Linked DNA regions of Homo sapiens: region 2 is linked to region 1. Evidence: promoter capture Hi-C in 16 types of primary human blood cells and fetal thymus (Javierre and others, 2016). All regions are on one chromosome and are shown on one strand. The core of a region is centred on a gene start or on the middle of the fragment in contact, and the rest is flanking DNA. Distances in the headings are between cores, read along the strand shown. Region 1 holds the start of JPT2 (Jupiter microtubule associated homolog 2). Region 2 overlaps UNKL (unk like zinc finger).

Region 1 (4,606 bases), core at 1,284-3,783:
TAAACTTGGATTAAATTCCTTACAAATAGAAATGTTCCAGCTTGAAGGAAGACCTCAGGTTAATCGCGGCTAAAGCATAACGCTTTTACGAAACCCCTTTAACACAAGACAATCCCTCAGCAAGGAAAGGAGAGATGTGAGGTCTCAGGAGAGGAAAACCTGGCTAGGTAATCTTACAGCCACCACCTGACTCGCTTCACAGCAAAACTAAATGTGACGCTTACAAGGCGCCCGCCCTGCGACTCGACCCCGTTCAGATGAGTGGCAAATGTGCAGCGTCTGGTGGACCCCAAGCAGAAGCTTCCAGTGATACCTCATCATCCAGTTCAGACCGGCTTTCCTTCCTCACCATCCTAAAAGGAAGAGTTTTCTCCCTTTCTCAACACCTTGTCCAGAAACCAGTCCCCCAGGGTAGTGTGAGTATGACTTTAGTGCGGCCCTGTGCAGCTAACTTCTGGAGCGTGAAAGTCAATATAAAAACATCGGCGTCGCTCAGGGTGATAATAAACACCATCATTTACCGGGCAGCCAGTGCCAGGCAGCACAAACAAAAAGGAAACGTACTAAATGCACACAACTGGGACAGGGCTGGGGATGCAGTCCCTCCCCCCACTGATGTGGGTGGTGCAAAACTCTGGCCACCAGGAACCAGAAACCGGATTCGCTCTGAGCACTAGTTTAAACTCCTGGTCCCACATCGGTGCAGACCTAGGCATAATAATCACTGTTCCATGGATGAAGGGCTGTTTCTTTGAGACGGAGTCTTGCTCTGTCATCCAGGCTGGAGTGCAGTGGTGTGATCTCGGCTCACTGCAAGCTCCGCCTCCCGGGTTCACACCATTCTCCTGCCTCAGCCTCTCAAGGAACTGGGACTACAGGCACCCGCCACCCCACACCCGGCTAATTTTTTCGTATTTTTAGTAGAGACGGGGTTTCACCGTGTTGGCCAGGATGGTCTCGATCTCCTGATCTCGTGGTCCACCTGCCTCGGCCTCCCCAAGTGCCGGGATTACAGCCGTTGAGTCACTGCACCCTGCCACGGGTAATTATTTGGTTACAAGTATTACTGAATACTGACCTAACTCCCTCAAATCTAAAGGGTTTTTTTTTTTTTTGAGACGGAGTCTTGCTCTGTCGTACAGGCTGGAGTGCAGTGGCATTATCTTGGCTCGCTGCCACCTCTGCCTCTGGGTTCAAGTGATTCTCCTGTCTCAGCCTCTCCAAGTAGCTGGGACTACAGGCACACACCACCACGCCTGGCTAATTTTTGCATTTTTAGTAGAGACGGGGGTTTCACCATGTTGGCCAGGCTGGTCTCGAACTCTTGACCTCACGTGACTCGCCCACCTCAGCCTCCCAAAGTGCCGTGATTACAGGTGTGAGCCACCACGCCCGGCCAATCTAAAGGGTTTTTATTTTTAGCAAGTTGGAGCAATTCTTTTACTTAGTATTTATTCAATATAGTATTTGTCTTCACTTGATCATAGCCAAAAGGCTGAGAAGCAATATAGTATTGGTCTTAACAGTCATGGCACACATATTCTCTTCTACTTCTCTGGCGAGGCTGTGCCACAGAGGGGCTCATCATACAGAAAACCTCAGGCATCTGAAGACCCAAACTTCACAATGCAAGTTTACTGCTCAAGTGGCACGAAAGACCTTGTAAGCTCTGTCCCTCTAATTCATGCGAGTCCCAATACCCAAAGAGTGCTTTAAAAGTTCAAAAACATAAGAAAAGTGTGCTCAGTGTTCCTGGCTATTAAAGCTGAGTCAGGATATCTTCGTCCCAATCCACTTCTTCCTACAGCGAAGCCCAGGAGCGCCATCCACCTTCCCAGGAGATAGAACTGACTCTTCCCCAGACGCCCTGGCACTTTCCAAAGGAAGTGGACTCACATGAACTAGTGGAAGCGCGGCCATGGGCAGGGCACAGGCCACACACACACCAGGGACACGGGCACACGGCCACACGCACAGGAGCGGGGGCATGGCCAGACACCCCCCACGAACACATCGCCGCACACCCCTTAGGGACACCCCCCCGGGAACATGGACACGCATCCCACAGACAAAATGGGCCGCACCCACGGGCACACCCCGCCCCCAGGAAACCCCCCACGGAACGCACCACACGGAACGCGGGCGCCCAGGCGCGAGGGAGCGCAGCCCGCCCTCCACACAGCTTTGTTCCCAGAGCCCGGGCGCCCCTCCCCGCCCTCGGCCTCGGTCGCGGGCAGCTCTCCACAGCCCGGGCCTCAGCGAGCGGCCCCTCGGGCTTCGGGCCTCGGTCTGGCGGCGGCGCAGAAAGGCGGGCGGCGGCCCCGAGGGCCTCTGTGAGGTCGCCCTGCCCCCCAACCCCACCCCAACCCCACACGGCTGGTGGACGCCCTGGGCTGGCCCGCTCCCGCCACGTGGTCGCGCTATCCGCCCGCCTCCCGTGTGCCCCGCGCCGCACCTGGAGCCGGCGCGGCCGCCCTCGCTATCCGGGACCTGGAACATGTCGACCGCCGCCACCCTCAGCTCGCCGCGCGCCGTTCCCGCCCGCCCAGCGCAGGTACTCAAGGCCGCCCGCCAGCGCCCATTGGGCGCCAAGACGCCAATCATCCCTCCGCAGCCTATCTCAGCGCGGCCACCGCCCCTCACGCCCACCCCCGACGACTTAGGCTTTGAACGGTCGGCGCCGCGCCCGCAGCCGATTGGGGAAGGCGACGCCGCTCGCGGAGGTGGGAGCTCGCATTGGGCGGCGGGCCGGGCGGGCCCTGGGACGGCCGCGCCCTCGGGAGGAAGCCCGGTCTGCGGGAGCCCGCGAGCCGACCGCGGGGCCGCACCTGGGCCGCACCTGCCCGACCAGGGACTGCGGGCATGGGCGCGCGGCCCTGAAGAACAGGCACAAACGACAGTCCTTAGATCAACATTAGTATGTATTTATGCACAATAAAAACATTTACAAGTTGAACTGGAAATTTAAACAGAAGTTTAACAGCTCTTATTATATTAAATAACCAAAACACCTTTTATTCCCAAAATTGGTAAAGAATAAATAATATAATTTACAATATGGTACAAAAAATAACCAGGAAAGGCAGGCATTCTGCTTTATACATACACTGTATATGCATATTTATAATCTATAAAACAAATTCATATCTGAAACGAGCGGAGGCCTCGCTATGGCTTAACCGAGTAAGAGAGAGAAGGGGAGCGGGGCGCGGGAGGCAGGGCCAGGGGCTGGGCTCCCCACACCTCACCCACCCCAAGGACACGCAGCCACTGTGACATCAGGAGAGCGCTGACAGCCGCGAAGGGTGTGCTGTGGGTTTTTTTCCTTCGTTGTAAATTACTCTTTCCTTGCTTTCTTTTTTTAACTTGAGACCCAGTTTCGCTCTTCTTGCCCAGGCTGGAGTGCACTGGCGCGATCTCGACTCACTGCAACCTCCGCCGCTGAGGTTCAAGTGATTCTCCTACCTCAAGTCTCCTCAGTAGCTGGGATTATGGGCATGCGCCACCACGCCCGGCTAATTCTGTACTTTTAGTAGAGACAGGGTCTCTCCATGTTAGTCAGGGTGGTCTCATACTCCCCACCTCAGGTGATCCGCCCGCCTCGGCCTCCCAAAGTGCTGGGATTACAGGCGTGAGCCACTGCGCCCGGCCTCCTTCCTTGTTTTCTTAAGACAAAGTGCTGTATTTCCTGACAAATGCATCGGCTAGAGCTCAAGGTTTAAAGAGAAAACACAACTGTCTTCCTCCTCCCTCATTCCCGGTGTCTTATGCCCCACAACTTTCTTTGCAGAAGAAATTTTGAATTCAATGCTGTGATCTAATTAAAGATGCTATTAAACTAAAAAGGTTATCCACCAGAAATGAGGCCACGGCCTCTCATGCCCAGAACCTGGAGGTGCGGCAAAGCAAGGAGGCCAACCGCGGAAACGCCGCCAACACCCCACTCCCTGAGCTGGCACCCTACAGCTACAAGACACAGAAGGACAAAACAGCCAGGAAGCCACGAACTAGGCATCCCCCGAGGCACGCAATGCCCGCTTATCACTGCACATCCACAACAGAATTGAGGCCAGAGGACTAACTTCCCTGGACCACAGATGCTCTGTCCCAATCTCCAGAAAAGACGAATCAACAGAAAGATCCCAGGCAACGTCAGAGGGATTCAGGAAAGCTTTTTCTAAGAAACTGATCTCATCTTAATTACAGCATGCTCAAATGCACAAAGGAAGCCACAGGCTCATACTTAGACGATCACCGCTTCTGTTGGAAAGGCAGAAGATGCAGGAAGTCTCTGTTTGGATCTTTTGAAAATTCCAGCCTTTAACAGTTGCCTATGTTTGCACATAAATATTCATTTAGGCCAGAAGAAAATGTATCCATTGTTTTTCTGCAACAAATGACACCATTTTCCCTTAATGTGGCAAGCAAATGCGTATCACCTGTCTAGTTACTAGAGAAGCAGAATCCTCTAGAACTCTTGTCAGCTTTATTACAGGAGAGGAGTCAGCCCGTCCTCCTCCCTAACCCATCTCCCCACTGGATGGCAATGGCTGCAGTTGGCTGCTCCCAGGAGTCTACGCTGGAGAACCAAGTGGTAGGTGCTGTC
Region 2 (4,606 bases), core at 774-3,273, 310 kb after region 1:
CTGGTCTGCCCCAGGTGGCACGTGGGCTCTCAGATCCCAGATCCTCTGGTCACCCCTCACCCCCAACCCAACTTCTGTGCAGTGGCTGCGGGAGTTTGAGACACGCTGTGGCTTCAGGGGCTGGTGGCCTGAGCTCAGCCTCCTCATGATGGCTTCCTAATTCTAGGAAGGGGCAGTGGGGTCCCTGCTTGCCATTCGGGGTTGGGGGTGGGGACTTGGGAGGGAAGGGCCCGTGCAGGAGGGCAGCCCCACGGCCTGCAGGGATGTGTGGGGACAGCCTTGGAAGGCAGGGCTGGCTGGGTGAGGCCACTCTGAGGCGGGTCCTTCCCACTCAGTCTTGAGCCTTGGGAATTGAGGTCTTGGTGCTTGGCATGAAATTGCACGTGAACACCTGCTCCTTGAAATCACCCTCACAGAAAGTTTTTTTTTTGTTTTTGTTTTTGTTTTTTTTGAGATGGAATCTTGCTCTGTCGTCCAGGCTGGAGGGCAGTGGCACGATCTCGGCTCACTGCAAGCTCCGCCTCTGGGGTTCACACCATTCTTCCGCCTCAGCCTCCCGAGTAGCTGGGACTACAGGCACCCGCCACCACGCCTGGCTAATTTTTTGTATTTTTTTTTTTTTGGTTGAGACGGGGTTTCACCGTGTTAGCCAGGATGGTCTCGATCTCCTGACCTTGTGATCTGCCCACCTCGGCCTCCCAAAGTGCTGGGATTACAGGTGTGAGCCACCGCACCCGGCCCTGGAAAGTTTTTTAAACAGTCGAATGTGCACACGTGGACAGATGCTAACACACACTTAGGTATTTAAACTCTGAGGGGCAGCAGCAGCGTGTCAGAGGCGAGGACCCAGCTGCTGGTCTGTGGTGCGGGGCGTCCCACCTGAGCACGCTCGTTTTGCCGGAGGAACAGCCAAGCCTCACACTGCCTGTGGGGGGCTGCGAGGACGGGCTGGGGGTGTCCTTCCCTGGCTGCCCCAGCAACTCCCACGCCTTCTGCCCTTGGTCTCACTCTAAGCCCAGGTGGGACGGTCGTCCTCCTCAGCTAGGCTTCCTGAGCTCTGCAGCGCTGGGTGGGCTGTGGATGATGGGGGGCTCTGTTGACAGGTTCTGCGTTAGACCTGCATCTTAGCAATGTGAATATTGCATCCCTAGAGAAGGACCTGGAAGAGCAAGACGGCCACGACCTGGGAGCAGCAGGTGAGGGTGGGGAGGACCTGGGGCCCTGCTCCTCCAGCCGCTGAACAGCCAAGTGCTGTGGCCGGAGGATCGCTTGAGCCCGGGGAGGTCAAGGCTGCAGTGAGCTGAGGTTGCACCACTGCACTCCTGCCTGGACCACAGGGCAAGACCCGGTGTCTGGTTTTCGGAGCGGGAGGATCCCCTTCTGGCGGTACCTCCTCCTCCTCTCCCTGACTGCCTCTCCCTTTCCCTCCCCTGCACATGGACTCCTCAGCATCTCTCCTGCCTCGGGCCTGCCCACTTCTTCAGTTGACCTTTGTCCCAGCAAAGTGGCCGCGCAGAGACAGGCGGGGCCTTTCCTGAAAGTCTTGATGGTCCCCGAAGGATAAATGTATTCACATTGTAGACAAAAGATTGACATCCATACAAATGTATCTTTTTTTTTTTTTTTTTTTTTGAGACAGAGCCTCGCTCTGTCGCCCAGGCTGGAGTGCAGTGGCGCGATCTCCGCTCACTGCAAGCTCCACCTCCCGGGTTCACGCCATTCTCCTGCCTCAGCCTCCGGAGTAGCTGGGACTACAGGTGCCCGCCACCACGCCCAGCTAATTTTTTGTATTTTTAATAGAGACGGGGTTTCACCATGTTAGCCAGGATGGTCTCCATCTCCTGACCCCGTGATCTGCCCGCCTTGGCCTCCCAAAGTGCTGGGATTACAGGCGTGAGCCAGTGCGCCCGGCCCCATACAAATGTATCTTAACATCGTATACAACATCTTTTCATTCAGCCTAAAAGTGTATCTTTTCTTTCTTTTAAAAGAAAGTAAACCATTTCAGGGGGCCTGGACAAGTGCTGGGAGGACCGTGCCAATGGCTTAGTTGGCCGGCAGGGCCTGGTGGGTGTCCGGCCTCTTTGGGGGGGGCCCATGTTAAACCCCCGTCTCCCCACCTCTGGTTGGAATCCCTTTGAGCCCATGGCTTGCCCAGCTGTGTTGGACATGGCCACCGGGGGCGCTGTGGCTCCAAACACATAGATGGTGGTGGCTGGCCTGGCCCCTATATTCCCACCCCCCATATCCCCACCACCACCACCTGCAGGGTCCGTCTTCCACGGCTGCCGCCCATGGCAGATGTTTGGGCAGAGGCCTGGCGGTACTCCCTTCGCTGACTGGTCCGCCCCCGCCAGGTCCCAGGTCGCTGGCCGGCTCTGCACCTGTCGCCATCCCCGGCTCCCTGCCCAGAGCACCATCGCTACACTCGCCATCCTCTGCGTCCACCTCGCCGCTCGGTTCGCTGTCCCAGCCCCTCCCAGGGCCGGTGGGCTCCTCAGCCATGACGCCTCCCCAGCAGCCGCCACCCCTGCGTTCAGAGCCGGGCACACTGGGCTCTGCAGCCTCATCCTACAGCCCCCTAGGTGAGTGCCGGCTCCCTCCATGCTGGCGTTGCCGTGAAGCCTCCGTGGGGCTCCCTCCCAGATGCCGTCCTGACTGAGGGGCCTCACACGGAACCTTGTGCCCTATCTGTGGTGGCAAACCACATGACCTGCTGCTCACAGGTTCCCCCACGCCGCAGACCGAGTCTCGCTCTGTCGCCCAGGTTGGACTGCAATGGTACGATCTCGGCTCGCCGCAACCTCCGCCTCCCAGGTTCAAGCAATTCTCCTGCCTCAGCCACCCAAGTAGCTGGGACTACAGGCGGGCGCCACCACGCCCAGCTAGTTTTTGTATTTTTAGTAGAGATGGCGTTTCATCACGCTGGCCGGGCCGGTCTCAAACTCCTGACCTCGTGATCTGCCTGCCTTGGCTTCCCAAAGTGTGGGATGACAGTGAGCCACCGTGCCCGGCTATTTGTTACGTTGTAAAAGAACTAACACTTGGTCGGGTGCAGTGGCTCACACCTGTAATCCCAGCACTTTGGGAGGCTGAGGCAGGCGGATCACCTGAGATTGGGAGTTCAAGACCAGCCTGACCAACATGGAGAAACCCCATCTCTACTAAAAATACAAAATTAGCCGGGTGTGGTGGTGCATGCCTGTAACCCCAGCTACTGGGGAGGCTGAGGCAGGAGAATTGCTTGAACCTGGGAGGTGGAGTTTGCAGTGAGCTGAGATTGTGCCATTATGCTCCAGCCTGGGCAACAAGAGTGAAACTCCATCTCAAAAAAAAAAAAGAGAAAAAGGCCCGGCGTGGTGGCTCACGCCTGTCATCCCAGCACTTGGGGCGCCGAGGTGGGCGGATCACGACGTCAGGATATCGAGACCATCCTGGCCAACATGGTGAAACCCCGTCTCTACTAAAAATACAAAAATTAGGCGGGCGTGGTGGCACATGCCTGTAATCCCAGCTACTTGGGAGGCTAAGGCAGGAGAATCGCTTGAACCCGGGAGTCGGAGGTCGCAGTGAGCTGAGATTGTGCCACTGCACTCCAATCCAGCCTGGCGATAGAGCTAGACTCCATTTCAAAAAAAAAAAAAAAAAAAAAAAAAAAACTAATACTTTGGGCCAACATAGTGGCTCAAGCCTGTAATCCCAGCACTTTGGGAGGTCGAGGTGGGTGGTCACTTGAGGCCAGGGGTTCAAGACCAGGCTAGGCACCATAGTGAGACTCCTGAGTCTACAAAAAAATACAAAATTTTAAAAGTTTTTATTTTTTTAAAACAAAGTTTCACTCTGTCGTCCAGGCTCCAGCAATCTTGGCTCACTGCAGCCTCTGCCTTCCGGGTTAAAATGATTGTCATGTCTCAGCCTCCCGAGTAGCTGGGATCACAGGTACCTGCTACCACGCCAGGCTAATTTTTGTATTTTTAGTAGAGATGGAGTTTCACCATGTTGGCCATACTGGTCTCAAACTCCTGACCTCAAGTGATCTGCTGGCCTCGACCTCCCAAAGTGCTGGGATGACAGGCCTGTTTTTTTTTTTTTTTTTTTTTTTTTTTGAGACGGAGTCTCATTCTGTCGCCCAGGCCGGACTGCGGACTGCAGTGGCGCAATCTCGGCTCACTGCAAGCTCCGCTTCCCGGGTTCACGCCATTCTCCTGCCTCAGCCTCCCGAGTAGCTGGGACTACAGGCGCCCGCCACCACGCCTGGCTAATTTTTTGTATTTTTAGTAGAGACGGGGTTTCACCTTGTTAGCCAGGATGGTCTCGATCTCCTGACCTCATGATCCACCCGCCTCGGCCTCCCAAAGTGCTGGGATTACAGGCGTGAGCCACCGCGCCCGGCCTGTTTTTTTTAAGTAACATTTAAACTATTTCAGTCATAGTCTCTAAAGCTGCATAGACATTGGCAGTCACCACATGGACACAGCTCTGTGGGGTCTTTGAGAGTCTCAGTGTGTGAGGGGTTCCTGGGAGTGGAGTCTGAGAACCACTGCCCCTCCCACCTCATGGTGTGGTCCCAGGAACTTGAATTTAATTCCTCTCTGTTTAGACTCCT

What was found. The method cuts DNA at HindIII sites, captures the fragments that hold promoters and counts their contacts. A CHiCAGO score of 5 or more calls a contact.
Region 2: a fragment that was not itself captured here is called in contact with the fragment with the promoter of JPT2 in region 1 in 9 of 17 cell types (naive B cells, total B cells, M1 macrophages and 6 more); the score reaches 8.5 in naive B cells.

What each region holds. Positions count from the first base shown.
Region 1 is chr16:1,676,206-1,680,811 of GRCh38, reverse strand. JPT2 (Jupiter microtubule associated homolog 2) reads right to left here and starts at 2,533. Exons shown (of 5, transcript NM_144570.3): 1 at 2,456-2,533. The coding sequence starts at 2,499. It overlaps CRAMP1 (cramped chromatin regulator 1), which reads right to left. Exons shown (of 21, transcript NM_020825.4): 21 at 2,904-4,606. RefSeq lists silencers at 2,117-2,476, 2,507-2,906 and an enhancer at 2,041-2,676. The HindIII fragment of the contact is 3,871 bases long and covers 303-4,173 here.
Region 2 is chr16:1,368,109-1,372,714 of GRCh38, reverse strand. UNKL (unk like zinc finger) reads left to right here. Exons shown (of 15, transcript NM_001372107.1): 11 at 1,104-1,196; 12 at 2,358-2,585. It also overlaps the pseudogene TJP1P1. Among named protein-coding and RNA genes, the nearest start is that of GNPTG, 18 kb to the right of the region's middle. The HindIII fragment of the contact is 9,841 bases long and covers 1-4,606 here.